Regions from separate parts of the Homo sapiens genome. Here regions 2, 3, 4 and 5 are each linked to region 1. The links are contacts of gene promoters, found by promoter capture Hi-C in blood cells and fetal thymus (Javierre and others, 2016). All regions are on one chromosome and are shown on one strand. Each heading gives the region's core, a stretch centred on a gene start or on the middle of the fragment in contact. The rest is flanking DNA. Distances are from core to core; before and after follow the strand shown.

What was found. The method cuts DNA at HindIII sites, captures the fragments that hold promoters and counts their contacts. A CHiCAGO score of 5 or more calls a contact.
Region 2: a contact is called between a fragment that was not itself captured here and the fragment with the promoter of TNS3 in region 1, in 1 of 17 cell types (total B cells). The highest score is 5.3, in total B cells.
Region 3: a fragment that was not itself captured here is called in contact with the fragment with the promoter of TNS3 in region 1 in 6 of 17 cell types (erythroblasts, M2 macrophages, M0 macrophages and 3 more); the score reaches 12.5 in erythroblasts.
Region 4: a fragment that was not itself captured here is called in contact with the fragment with the promoter of TNS3 in region 1 in 1 of 17 cell types (total B cells); the score reaches 6.6 in total B cells.
Region 5: a contact is called between a fragment that was not itself captured here and the fragment with the promoter of TNS3 in region 1, in 3 of 17 cell types (erythroblasts, total B cells and megakaryocytes). The highest score is 11.4, in erythroblasts.

What each region holds. Positions count from the first base shown.
Region 1 is chr7:47,580,760-47,583,459 of GRCh38, reverse strand. It overlaps TNS3 (tensin 3), which reads left to right and starts at 1,349. Exons shown (of 31, transcript NM_022748.12): 1 at 1,349-1,409. RefSeq lists enhancers at 938-1,475, 1,476-2,013. The HindIII fragment of the contact is 9,706 bases long and covers 1-2,700 here.
Region 2 is chr7:47,897,514-47,900,213 of GRCh38, reverse strand. PKD1L1 (polycystin 1 like 1, transient receptor potential channel interacting) reads left to right here. Exons shown (of 57, transcript NM_138295.5): 14 at 2,020-2,226. Among named protein-coding and RNA genes, the nearest start is that of PKD1L1, 50 kb to the left of the region's middle. RefSeq lists an enhancer at 2,471-2,700. The HindIII fragment of the contact is 595 bases long and covers 1,107-1,701 here.
Region 3 is chr7:47,291,843-47,294,542 of GRCh38, reverse strand. TNS3 (tensin 3) reads left to right here. Exons shown (of 31, transcript NM_022748.12): 25 at 715-810; 26 at 1,638-1,715; 27 at 2,511-2,588. Among named protein-coding and RNA genes, the nearest start is that of SNORD151, 170 kb to the left of the region's middle. RefSeq lists an enhancer at 281-1,480. The HindIII fragment of the contact is 2,934 bases long and covers 1-2,700 here.
Region 4 is chr7:47,841,265-47,843,964 of GRCh38, reverse strand. PKD1L1 (polycystin 1 like 1, transient receptor potential channel interacting) reads left to right here. Exons shown (of 57, transcript NM_138295.5): 34 at 796-1,003. Among named protein-coding and RNA genes, the nearest start is that of PKD1L1-AS1, 47 kb to the right of the region's middle. The HindIII fragment of the contact is 577 bases long and covers 1,136-1,712 here.
Region 5 is chr7:47,258,206-47,260,905 of GRCh38, reverse strand. No RefSeq gene overlaps it. Among named protein-coding and RNA genes, the nearest start is that of SNORD151, 210 kb to the left of the region's middle. The HindIII fragment of the contact is 275 bases long and covers 1,185-1,459 here.

The DNA.
Region 1 (2,700 bases), core at 100-2,599:
GGTGCTCATGAAGCCTTTGCCTGGGAATAAATACCCAGATCAGTCTGGGGATGAGAAATGACACTACCTTCCAGAGCACAGCAGGGGTTGTTCAAGTCTTCCAGAAAAGCAGCTCTTGTTTCTCCTCATGTGGTGGGAGTGGAGTCAGAGCGTGGCTCAGGCCCCACATTCTCAGCTGTTTGGATCTGGGGACTCGAAGTTTCTGGTGGTTACTTCTGAAAGTCTTTTCCAGGATAATTATTCTTGCTCGGTTTCTCTGCCATCTCTGACAGGCTGTTTTCCCTGCTTCCCCCGCTGCCCTGAAGGGGCCAGAGGAACAGGGCAGGACCCCAGGGCTGCGGATGGGTTAGGCAGCTCTGTTCCCGAATCCAAAGCAGTTCTTGGTGACTGTCCTCCAAGACTTGCCCTGGACCCTGCTCCGGGTGGGATTCTGAGACCGCCTGCTCCACGTGGCAGATGAAATCTAGGTCTCTTCTGTGAGAGGCTGGCGGGGAGGATGTTTTCCTGGAAAGGACCACAGGACAAACCGCTGATGAAATTTCTCTTGTGACCTCCCTGGAGGAAGAGCACTTCTGATTTCTGCAAACTTTTTCCATTCCCCCGATCTCACAAATGGGGAAACTGAGGCTAAGCGACTGAGTTCAGGGCCATCTGAATCTCAGGGATGGACAGTCAGGATGGACAACCTATAGGCCTTTCCTCCTCTGAGAATCTCTCTGCTCGGGATCGTTTTTCTGGTTTCCCCTGGCTTGCCTAAATTCTGCTCATTTGTCCCGGCGCATTTTAAGAAGTCATGTGACTTCTAAAGACTTCCCTGACCTCCTCCCTTCATTAGCTGGGTATTTCAGGGGCTTCTACGGCACCCTAGGCTTTCCGGAGCGGCTGTGCTCCTTTATGTATGCGCGACTCCCACTAGGCTATGAGCTACAGGAGGGAGGGTAGGTCTTGCTCCCGGAGAGCACCTTAATCACAGGCGCTGAATGAAAGAATGAACTGGTTGTGCAGGAACCAGGATCCGAACCCGCCTCCCCAGGTACTCTAACACCGGCCCGGCGGAACCTGCAAGCCTCCAGACCACTTGGAGCCTGGGCTGCTCAATGGGTCTGATAATTCCAGGTCCTCTCTGCGGCCAGCGAAGGGAGGTCCCAGGGCGCACCTCGGCAGGGCGGGGGACCCCGGTGAAGGGCGCCTGGAGGCGCGCTGCATTGTTAGGGTGATGAGGCCAGGTGACCCGCCAGGCTCGGGGCGCGGGCGCGGGGGCCGGCCGTGGCGATTGCCCGCGCCGCCTCGAGGGGGCCCTGCCGCGGGCGCCGGCAGCCAGCCAGGAGGACGGGCCCGCCCGCGCGCTACTCGGAGCCCAGCCTCGTTGCGGCCATCGCCCTGCCGGACCGCGCCTCAGGCTCCCCCAGGTACTGGGGCCGGGGAAGGAGGAAACGCGGCCACGCGCCGCGGTCCTCTTTGTTTCGGGCCCGGCGCGGGCTTTCGCGCTCCGGGCGCAGGAACGAGGCTTGGGGAGCACAGAGATCTGGAGCTGGGGCGCGGGGACTGAGTTCGGGGAGCGCGGAGACAGAGTTCGGGGAGCGCGGGGTACGGGAGCTCAGGGCGCGGGGATGGGGTCACGGGAGAACCCAGGTTAGGGAGCGCGGGGACCCGGTTGGGGGCGCACGGGCAAGGGGTTTGGTGCGCGCGGGTACGGGGTTTGCGGCGCGTGGGGGGCGGGGGCTCGGCAGGAGTCCCAGGACAGGGGCTGGGGCGCGGGCCAGCTTCGCCGGAGTCCGGGGACGGGGGCGCTGACTGGCTGGGTTTGGGGACTGGCTGGGGCGCAGGACCACTCGAGTGGGACCCGTGGCGCCCGGGCGCCCTGGACTGAGGGCAGAGACCGGAGCAGCTATGTCGCAGTCGCTGTCGGGACCGAGCGGACTTTGCTCCCTAGGACTCCGTCTCGAGACTCCAGGTGGAGAGCGCAGCTAGGGGCTTCAATGGGCAGGCTCAAGACCCTTCTCCTACTTTTTCTAGGCAAGCTCTCCAGTGCGTCTCTTTCCCTTTCCCTTTGGTGGGTGGGAGGCAGGGGGTCTTTACGCGCTTCCTTTTTTTCCCTGAAGGACGGGACCTCGGGGTGGGGGGATATTCTGGGGTGGGGGGTGCTGTCCCAGGCTGGGGGCCAGCTGTGTGGCATGTGCCTCCTGGCACGCGGGAGCTGTCGCTGACAAGCAGGAGGAGGGAGGGTCCCGGACGGCCCAGGGGTCTCTGTGTCGGTGCTGTGCAGCGGCCTGACATGTGAGTCCCGGGTCCTTTGCTTGGAGTGATTTGAGTGTCTGTGGCGGGAAGAGATTCAGGCGTTCCTCAGGCATTCTCCAGACAGTGTCAGCAGATGACCCGAACTCCAGCGTGGTTGAAAAACTCAAAGCGCCATCAGGGTGTGGGGCCAGCAGAGAGCACTACTGAGGGTGGTCACAACCCCCTGGGAAGCCCCCAGGCTTCCTTGGGGCGCATTCACACACTTTGATCTTCCGGGTTGGCTTTCCCCCCATTTTTTTCACTATTTGAATGCATGATCATGGAGGACTCTGAAAATATACTGAAAAGTATGAATGCAGAACTCATTGTATTAATATTGCATGGCCCTTCTGAACTAACCAACCCTTTGACATTTTAGATTTTCTTGAGGCTTTGGTCTGTGCATATTAATTTTTTAAATTG
Region 2 (2,700 bases), core at 155-2,654, 320 kb before region 1:
TGAGCTAAAAATTGGCATCCTAGTATTAAAATTTGCTGTAACCCATATAAATCTGGGCAGTTTTGTGACAAATCTTAGAATGATATCATATTCAGAATAGAAACAATAAAAAGTAATTGGAAAGTAATTTTAATTATAACTAAAGTCACCTAAAGAATGTCAAAAGTAAACTTTCATTTATAATGAGCACCAAGATTTCTTAAAATCCCATTTCTCAGCTGCCTCCAGGTTTTTCCCTTTCCGATTTTTTTTTTTTTTGGGATGGAGTCTCGCTCTGTTGCCTAGGAGGGAGTGCAGTGGTGCAATCTGGGCTCACTGCAAGCTCCGCCTCCCGGGTTCACACCATTCTCCTGCCTCAGCCTCCAGAGTAGCTGGGACTACAGGCGTCCGCCACCACACCTGGCTAATTTTTTGTATTTTTAGTAAAAACAGGGTTTCACCGTGTTAGCCAGGATGGTCTTGATCTCCTGACCTCGTGATCCGCCCACCTTGGCCTCCCAAAGTGCTGGGATTACAGGCTTGCGTCACCGTGCCTGGCCTTCCCTTTCCAATTTTTAGGGAACCTTCAGGAAAAAAAAAATCCCTCTGGGGGAGACCCTGCACCCAGCATCTGCAGGGTGGAGGCGCTCTGGCCAGGCAGAGACTCTATCCTGAGGCCCCCTAGCCTGGCTTGCTCCTCCATGCTTGAGGTGGCATCTGGCTCCAGCCCAAAGTAGGGGGTGTGGAGGGGCTTCAGAAAGACAGAGTGGCTGGGAGGAGTAAGGGGTGTGGATGGGTAGACACTAATATTCCCCCCCATATCCTCATCCTCATTGGCTTATTAAAGTGAGCAAATATGCTTTTTGTATATGTATCAGCTACTATTAACATTTAAAATTCTTTGTTATGGAAATTTTAAAGCATAAATAACAGTAGAAAGAATAGTGCAACAAACCCATCACTTTAAAAGACTACCAGGGTCATACCAGAAGGTTGCCAGAGCCAGGCCAAGGAGAGTGCCCCAGGCCCCTGATGGGCTACTTGGAGCATCTAAAAAGTAACATCTACAATTGAATGAATAATGCTAATATTTTAAAAATAATTATGCTGAAAGAGAAAGAGAAGCTTCTGCTGTTCCCACCAAGCAGGCAGACACAAGTAACATATTGGTCACCTTTGGAAGTAACTAGTGCCCCAGCTTCTTACTCTGAATGTTGGTAATTAAGGGAAAGAATTAAGCATTTATTCTTATTTTCCTGACCAAACTATAGTTTAGGAAACCTCATAGTTCTAGTTGATAAGAAAATTTTTTTCTCCTCTCTCCTTTTTTTTTTTTAGCAAAAGAACTTTTGTGCATCTCAAATCAAACAATTGCACAAGGGTATGTTTTGGAGACAATAAGGGAAATTTTATTATAAACTAGGTTTAAATTATACTAAGAACTTATTGTTAATTTTTAAGGTGAGATAGTAGTGTTGTGTTGATGTAGGAAAATTCCCTTAGTTTTTAGAGATGTATATTTAGTATTTAGGGATTAAATGTCATGATTTCTGAGAATGACTTAAGAATATTTCAGTGAAGAAAAAAATAGGGAAAGCAAACATCTGTTGTGTATACTGCAAATGATTTTCTTATTATATTCATTGATTTAAAAAATTTATATATACACATAGGTGCCAAAACCCAGAAGCATAACATTTATATTTTTGACGTTTGGAAGCTTAAATTTTTTATGTAATCAAATATCAGATATCTTTGCTATTTTTCCATTAATTTTATGCATAGGAAGTTTTTTCTCATGAGTATATAAATATTTACTTATTATTTTAGTTGGTTTTTTTTTAACCTTTTATTTTTGTCTATAAAATAGATGTAGTGTTTATTCTGGTGTTGTCTAAAGCCCAGACCTAAGAATACCATTCTGTCACTATGCAAACAAATAATGGGAGATCTACAGTTAAGACTAAGTTTCTAGTAATTTACCAGTACATTAGATGTGATGGACATTTTAATGAGACATCTTCTCTTCTTGATACTTAGATATGGAGGTCTCAGCCTGTGAGGCTGGGAGTGACGTTTGAAGCTGCAGTCTTCTGTGATATTTCCCAAGGTCTTTCTTACACCTGGAACTTGATGGACTCTGAAGGGCTCCCTGTCTCCCTCCCTGCTGCTGTGGACACTCACAGACAGACCCTCATCCTCCCGAGCCACACCTTGGAGTATGGGAACTACACTGCCCTTGCCAAGGTCAGCTGGCTGACTTACTGCTCTACTGGCCCAATGAAACCCATGCTTCTCATCGCCCTGGAGCAAGAGCTCAGCATTTGGAATTCAACACCTGTTCGATCCAGGAAAAGGGAGGTTGTTTAAAAAAAAAAAAATCTGCATTGGATTTTAAGAGAAATGTTTAATTCCCCCAAAGAGAACAAATTATGTTCAAATGCAGTCAAAGCAATTGATGAAAAGCTCCTTCCAATGTGTATAACAAAACCTTCCTGTGTACCTAATTTGAATAAGCCCTGTGCTGGTGCCGGGATGTCAGGAGAATGTGTGGCCCTGCCATTTAGGGGCCAATCACCCAGAAAGGAAAGGAGACGACAGTCAGAGGGCAGGGCATCCAAGAGGCACTCACGGTGACTGCCTGGCACTTTGATTCTCAGCATGTGCTTGGTGCATTTTGGCTGGAAAAAGTGGTGAAAATATGCGAGTTAAAAGAGGGAG
Region 3 (2,700 bases), core at 12-2,511, 290 kb after region 1:
CAGCACACTGTGAAGGTCTGTTGGACTCATTAGCATAGGGCAGTGACTTCTTGTTCTTTTGGTTGTGCTGTTTGTACTTTTCCACTCTCAGATAGTTTTGCCATTCAGTGGCTTTTTATGATGTGTTTTCTCTTTGGACTCATGGGCTGGCCTAAAGCAGATGCACTGTTTACTGTTAATAGCAATGTGGTAGAGTGCTGCTCCCGTGCAGCTGAGTGCTTGCTTTCTGGAAGGTTTTAAAGATCCAGGCTCCTGGTTAAATCCCACCCAGAAGACTGACCTCCTTCCAGCTCTTTTCAGTGATTCATTATAGGTATCATTTTGTGTCTGAGCCTTTCTCACCTCTCCTCTTTGGGAGAGGATTCAGCTGGAGATTCATGATCCTCTTTCTTAGCTGCAAGCTCATTCCCTTCGTTGGGGATTCTTGCACAATGTTTGAGGGCCTCTCCCAAGGGACCTCTCCAGCCCCCACACTGTCATTGCAAGGGTTCCCGCCCTGTATCTGGCCTAGCCTGTGCTCATCCAGCTGTCCTGCAGCCCGGCTACCATTCCTAGGACGAAGATGGTTCTTGGCAGCCTCTTTTGCAGTGACTGGACTCGTATTCAGAGAAGAGCCTTTTCAACTGTAGCTCCTGGCTTTTATGTTCTCTCTATTGAATTCTCCCATGCTCCCATTTTCAAAAAATTCTTCTTTCTTTAAATTTCTTGCCACAGCTGGAGATTTGGCCAATGAACTCGTCCGGCACTTTTTGATCGAGTGTACCCCGAAGGGAGTGCGGTTGAAAGGGTGCTCGAATGAACCATATTTCGGTGAGTTGCTTGAGAGGTTGCTGTCAATGTTCTGAACTCATGAGGCCTGGATTCCCTCTGCTCACCAACCTGAGATTTGGGACTATCACTCTTATGGTGGTTTACTCATATTTCAGTCCCCAGTTCTGAAATCCTGCTGATCTGCATTATTATCTTTAAGATAAACTAGATTTGAAGTTGTTCTTAAAAGCTCTGTCAAAACCAAACAAATGAAAAGCACCATATCAGACGTAGGAATTACAGACGTCAATAAGATTCTATCCTAGTTGGCAGGCAGGTAAGTCCTGAGAAGGTTGGAGCTCCAGCATGACCCTATCCCACAGCACAAGGAACAACATAGAGCTCCCAACAGAGCACCCTCCCTTCCCTGCAAATTGGGAGCCTTCCCTACCTCACGAGCTTGTTGGAAAGATGACTTGAGCAATCCACACAAAGCACAGTGCAGCCTTAGGCATCATTGTTATTAGAGCTTTGTTAAGAAGCATTGTGCAGGGGTAATATATATGGTTGAAGTTGGAGTTGGCTTGATGTCAACCCTCCTGATTCAAGATCCAACAAACTGTATGCTTTAGTCTTTATATAATTTGGTAATGATGTGTCTATGATAAGAATGATAAACAGTTCCATTTACTTACCTCTCAACTATCTTGTGGAACTTTATACTTCTTTGAAGTTTTACACAAAGCTGCACACTAATCTAACATACCAGTTGCTAAAAAGATAAGGGCTCAGCCTTTGCATCCGTTTCATTCCAGCTGATAAATTGGCTGAGCACACAACATCTACAGCAGTTGTTGACTCTTGTTTGCTGTCTGTCCACTTTGCAGGGAGCCTGACGGCCTTGGTGTGCCAGCATTCCATCACGCCCTTGGCCTTGCCGTGCAAGCTGCTTATCCCAGAGAGAGGTAAGGGGTCCTCAGTGCTAGTCAGGCTCTGTGTAGATTGTCTGCAGTCAAGGCCACCGGTTTTAGAGATCCATGAAGATCCACTGAGAAAAATAATAAGACTGGAAGTTTTTTCGTATTCTCTTGGTTGAACCCAAGAAAAGGCCAATGAGTTCATCCAAATTAAGGAGAGAAGAGGAGATTCTACTTCACTGACAGCTCCCAGATAGCTTTACATCATGGATTTTGATGAAAGATTTCTATAGAGCAAAGATTCTGTAGTTTAAAAATATAAAACCCTCAGACAAAGAAGGCTTCAGGGTCATTGACATTTAATTTTTACGTTTCTACGGAATGGGCAAAATGTTGATGTTGTTGAACTTAGATGATGGATGCACTGTTCTTTTTACTTTTATGTTTGTTAAACAATATCCATAATGAAATTAAATAACACCCACAGCATGTCAGGGCGATGTGACCGTATGTCCCACTTTCCTAAGCAGTCACAACTTCACATAAAAATGGTCTAACTTAATATATAGGTAAATGTGATTTACTTTTCAAAGTGTCATTGTTCATATGACTAATTCGGTGATTAGAAAAATATTTTGTTAGGCCTTGTCATCTCTACTTTTATTCAGAATGTGATCATGGTTTCTATGGGCCAAATTATTGTCCCAAAGAGAAACTCTTGACTCTGCAAAACCATTGCATGTCACCATCTGGGAATTCTGTCATCAAATTGTCTAACTTTGTCATGAGGATTCTTGGTCAGGAGCAGGACTCATTTCTGTATTTTCTTGCCCCTTCCTACAGATCCATTGGAGGAAATAGCAGAAAGTTCTCCCCAGACGGCAGCCAATTCAGCAGCTGAGCTGTTGAAGCAGGGGGCAGGTCAGTAAATGCAGCTCCATTTCTACATCTGGTGACTGGGGAGAAAAAGGACTCACTGACACAACTTCCTTTTGCACTTCAGTATTCAGGTTTCCTTTCTTTTCTGTGAGCC
Region 4 (2,700 bases), core at 175-2,674, 260 kb before region 1:
GAACAGGCTCTATCTTGGTGGGAAAAAAGAGGGCAGGTGAGAAACCAAGAGCAGAGCCCAATCCTCAGATTAAATCAAAGAGCAGAATGCTAGGGGATGGGGCGGGCAACATCCCCGTGTGACATAGACCCTGGTGCCCACCCTCTGAGATCCCATCACAAATCTGTAAGACTCCAGTTAGGTTAGAGTCCCTGCACAGCAGCTTGATATGAATGTCATTCTACGGAACTGTGGGCATTCAGTGATCTCACCCCAGCCAGTGTTGGTGCCTGGGAACAGGTAGGTAGAGGCTACAGGTAGGGAACAAGCAGCACCATCCACAGGGGCGGTGGGAGGCACAGGCAGGGTCTCCAAAACATTGCCAATGCCTCCTAGCCTTGTTCTGCTAGCAGGAGAGGGAGAGAGGGAGGAACATAATGGCACCTGCATGTTTCAAGAATTTTGTATATTTGTATTGCTTAATCTTTACAATAGCAGCGAGACTGGCATTCTTAGCCATAGTTCACAATGAAAGTTCCTCAGACCCAGCATGGCACAGCCACCTAGCACAGAGGCTGGTCCATTACAAGGTTTCTTTGGTTCTGGAGTCCATGCTTGTGGGGTGCTGCTCACTGGACCACAGGCCAGCTCCCTGCCTTCAAAGCCCTTCTAACTCAGCTTCCAGCAAGTGTAAAAATGTATCAGTGAAGCCCAGCAGGGACTTTTGTGTGTAAGGGGCTAGGGGTGGCAATCAGTCTTTTCCTATATGTCTATTTTCATGAGCAATTTTCTTTATATCTCTCCTTTTGTTTATAGCCACCCAGAAAACTTGCTTCCCAGTATTTTTATTATGGGTTCTGTGATTCTTTATGGATTTTTGGTCGCTAAAAGTAGACAAGTAGATCATCATGAAAAAAAGAAAGCTGGTTACATCTTTCTGCAAGAAGCTTCCCTGCCGGGCCATCAGCTATATGCGGTCGTCATTGACACTGGCTTCCGAGCTCCGGCCAGGTTGACCTCAAAGGTAGCTCGAGCATCTGGGGGTACTCTTTGATGGTGTCTAAGCAGTGTCAACATCAGAAGTGAGGATTTGGTGATTTGGCTGCCCCGTCTGTCACCTGTCACAGCAGCCTCATCTCATTGCTGAGGCAAAGCTTGCCCGCCCTTTCCACTGCCCTCCCTTGGCCTGCACATCTGTCAGGGTGAAGAGCAGACCCCTTCACCTTCTGCAGCTGCTCCAATCCCTTCTCCTTCTGTCTCCACTGTGGAAAGCAGCCCGGGGAGATATGTTCTGTCTCTGAGTGGATCTTTGAGACTCTGAGAATGAGTTGTACTCTTCTGAGCTTGGGGCTGAAGACAACAGTCCCAGAGAAGCTGGTGGAGGATGAAGATGGGGTGGGAAGAAGGATGCGGTGGAGGAGGAGGAAATAGTCTAGCACTGGGCCCAGTGGAGCAGGGGTGCCGCGGTGAGCTGTGGAGGTGAGGTCTGCAGGGGCAGAAATTGAGCCCGGCAGAGCCATGTGCAATTCGAAGTGCGTGTGACACAAATCCCTCAGAGAGGGAGACTCCCTCTGCCCTTGGAACTCACGCTTCCATTTCCCGAGGGAACCATGGTTACTTTATGGAAGCAATAGGATTGGGGTGTGGATGAGAAAGAGTTAGATGGGAGGATGAATAAGATGGGGTGCCACAGTGCAGTAGGATAGATGGGGACACAACACATTTTTAAAGCTTATGTGGTCCTTACTCACCATAAGCCCTTCGTCTACCAACTGTATATTTAAATTGTCTTTCAGATAAACATACATGTATATATTCACAAGCAATGCATACACATAGGAATGTTCTTAACCTAACAAAGGAAGATTTAGTGGTGAAGCTTTAGATGATTTCTAAGGGATGTCTGCTGTCAGCACTGCTATTTATCATTGTACTAGAAATCCTGGTTAAAAACAATAAAGCAAGAAATAAAACAGGAATATAAGTTTCCAAAAGGGAGAAAGAGATGGTTCTTCGTACAGGATGAGGTTGTCTACATAGCAAATGAAGAAGCATCTTCACTCTAATGATTAGCACTAATAACATTAAAGAAACTTGCTGAATTTGTGATTAAGAAAAAATCATCAAAATAATCTCTATAAAACAGCAATAACTATTTATAACATGGAGTTGAAAACAAGAACCTCTTTGTCACAGTAAAAAATGGTGGGGTGCCTAGAAGTGAATTCATCAAACCCCACATACAAGACCATCATGAAGGAACTATCCCTGATATGCATAAGAGATCCAAATAAAGAGCTATGTTCATGGATGAGAAAGCCGATTTTCCTTTGTCATTTCTCCCAAATTAATCTATAACATTAATAATAATAGTGTGAATGAAATTCTATTAATATACCCCCTTTACAAATGAAAACCTAAGGCATAATGAGGTTAAATCCAATTAAATCTATTCATAATTCCAGGACAGTGTTTTGTGGAACTTGGAAAACTGATCCTAAAATTCAGGTAGAAAAGAATACAAGAGAATTACAAGACCAGTCATGCCAACTCTCAAGAGAAGAACAAGGCAGGGGCCTCCCAACTCGATATCCAGGCTTATTTTGAAACTGTAGCACCTGAGATCGTGTCATGACCTCGGGAGAGGTACTGAGGAGGGATTTCTAGGGAAGACTAGAGGTCTTACAAACCACAGGAAAGGGTGCACTGTTTCAAAAAATA
Region 5 (2,700 bases), core at 73-2,572, 320 kb after region 1:
TTTTAAAAGAAATAACCTCTCCGATTGACAGAGTTCTTCGTGACAGTGTGTTTTAGAGCTGTGCACTGATGATCCTCCTTCTCTGTTTGTGGGTGAGAGTCAGGCTGGTCAGTCCACGCTGTGTGATCATGCTCCTGGGACTCCATTTTTGAAAAGGGTTGCTGTGAACATGGAATGAAATTATGTGTAAGAAGAACTAGTACAAAGCCAAGGACATAGTGAACTTTCCATAGATTGTGCTATATCTTCATCATCACCATCATCATCATCTTCACCATTATCACAATCAACATCACCATCATCATTATCCCCATTACCATCATCATCATCACCATTATCACCATCTCCACCATCATCATTATCACCATTACCATATCCTCATCACTGTCATCATCACCATTACCATCATCATCATCATGGTCATCACATCATCACCATCATCATCATCATCATCACCATTACTGAAAAAATCATCACTTTATCATCTCTTCATTACCATCATCATCATCGCTGTCATCATCATTACCACCACCATCATCATCATCACCATCATCACCATCATTATCACCACCATCCTCAACATCACCATCACTATCACCATTATCACTACCATATTTATCAACATTTTTTTGTTATCAGGCATCAGATATGATCATCTTTGACAACCTAAAGCCAGGGAAGGAGTATGAGTTGGGGGAAGCCACTCTGGTGGGTGTTAGTTTATGTAAAAACTATATTTACATGTTTGTGTCTGTGTATGTGCCATTGCCATGTGTTATTCTCTCTCCCTCTCTCTCATTTTTTTTTTTTTTTGGCTTCTGAAGAGCTATTGAAAAGTATTATAAGCTCAGCACAGTGGTGCATGCCTGTTCTCTCAGCTATTCAGGAGTCCAGCCTGGGTAACAGAGTGAAACTCCATCTCTAAGAAAGAGAGAGACAGAGAAAGAAAGAGAGAGGGAGGGAGAAAGAGAGAGGGAGAGAGAGAGAAAAAGAGGGAGAGAGAGAGAAAAAGAGATAGAGAAGGTGAGAGGGAGAGAGGGGGCGAAAGAGAAAGAGAGAAAGAAGAAAGAAAGAGAGAGAAAGAAAAGAAAAGAAAAAGGAAGAAGGAAGGGAGGAAGGAAGGGGAGAGAAAAGTATGATAGGAACTCAAAATAGGAAACATCTACCTGGGTACTAGACAAGCTTCCCAAGGGCGTAAGAAGCAAACACCTCCTTGCTTCTCTCCTCTTTGCAGTCTTATACAGAAGTTTCAATTTCTCTCCTTTCTTTGGTGATTCACAGTGATGTTCATCCACGGTTTTCTCTAAGTAACCCCCTTTTGCATCCTGGCTACCAGAAGTAGCATCTTAGGCAGGGACTCCAGTCTGGCCAGTGTCATTCCTGGCTGCCCAGTGCTGTAGGAATGTCTCAGAGGAGCTTCCTTACAAGGGTATTTATAGGAGTGACTTTTCTCTAAGCTTTATAATGCTAACTTCTAGGGTATAACTATTTTACACCAAAACCATTGATTTTCTCTATTGAGTATCCTCTATGTAGCTTCAATAGTGAGAGACATGCCTGGAAAGTCAGGGCCCTGAGGTGGGGGTTTCCTAAATCTTGGAGCAACTCTCCTAAGCCCATACAGCCTGAGATTCACTGTGGGCGAGGCTGGTCATGAGGAAGAGCTTCAGGGGCAACAGGAACCTGGGGTCTTCTTAGGGCAGCCAAAGTCTGTCTCCAACCCCTCTCCCAAGATTTGGAGTGCACGGGGGGCATGTTGGGAGAGCTTGGCCGCTCTATGATGGCCCAGTTGAAAGCAAAGAAGAAGACTCCTGGAATGAAATACTGACAGCTGCCTGAGGTGTGGGTGAAGCTGAAGGATGTCTACTTGCCACCCTGGGTAAGATGGCAAAGTTACTAGTCCTTCTGGCATATGGCCAAACATGACTGGGTGTGTCTCATACATACTTAGTGTCTTCAATGGGTTTATTTCCCTCTAGTTACCCAAAGCAAAGCAGGGAAAGGCATGTGGCAAGTTCACACAGTTACAAGTAAAAGTGAGGGTTGAATTAAAAAGGAAAAGATTTGAACAGATACTTTCTGGAAGAAGATACACAGATGGTAAGGCAGCACATGAATGTAACAGCATGAGACACTAGGGATATGCCGGTTAAAAGCACAGTGAGCTCTCATTCCACCTCCCTTAGTTCAAAAACAAGGCAAAGCTAAACAAAACCAAAAATGGACATTATCAAGTTCTGGCAGAGGCAGAGAAACTGGAACTCTTACGCTTGCTGGTGGAGATACAGAATGGGTCAACTGCTTAGAAAACAGTTTGAAGGGGCCGGGTGCGGTGGCTCACGCCTGTAATCCCAGCACTTTGGGAGGCTGAGGCAGTTGGATCACGAGGTCAGGAGTTTGAGACCAGCCTGGCCAACATGGTGAAACCCCATCTCTACTAAAAATACAAAATTAGCTGGGCCTGGTGGCACCTGCCTGTAGTCCCAGCTACTTGGGAGGCTGAGGCAGGAGAATCGCTTGAACTCGGGAGGCGGAGGTTGCAATGAGCTAAGATTGCACCACTGCACTCCAGCCTGGGCGACAGAGCAAGACTCCGTCTCAAAAAAACAAAACAAAAAAAAGAAAACAGTTTGAAAATTTCCCTGTAAAGTAAAACTTACATTTACCATGTATGTTGCAGCAATCTCCCTCTTAGGTGTT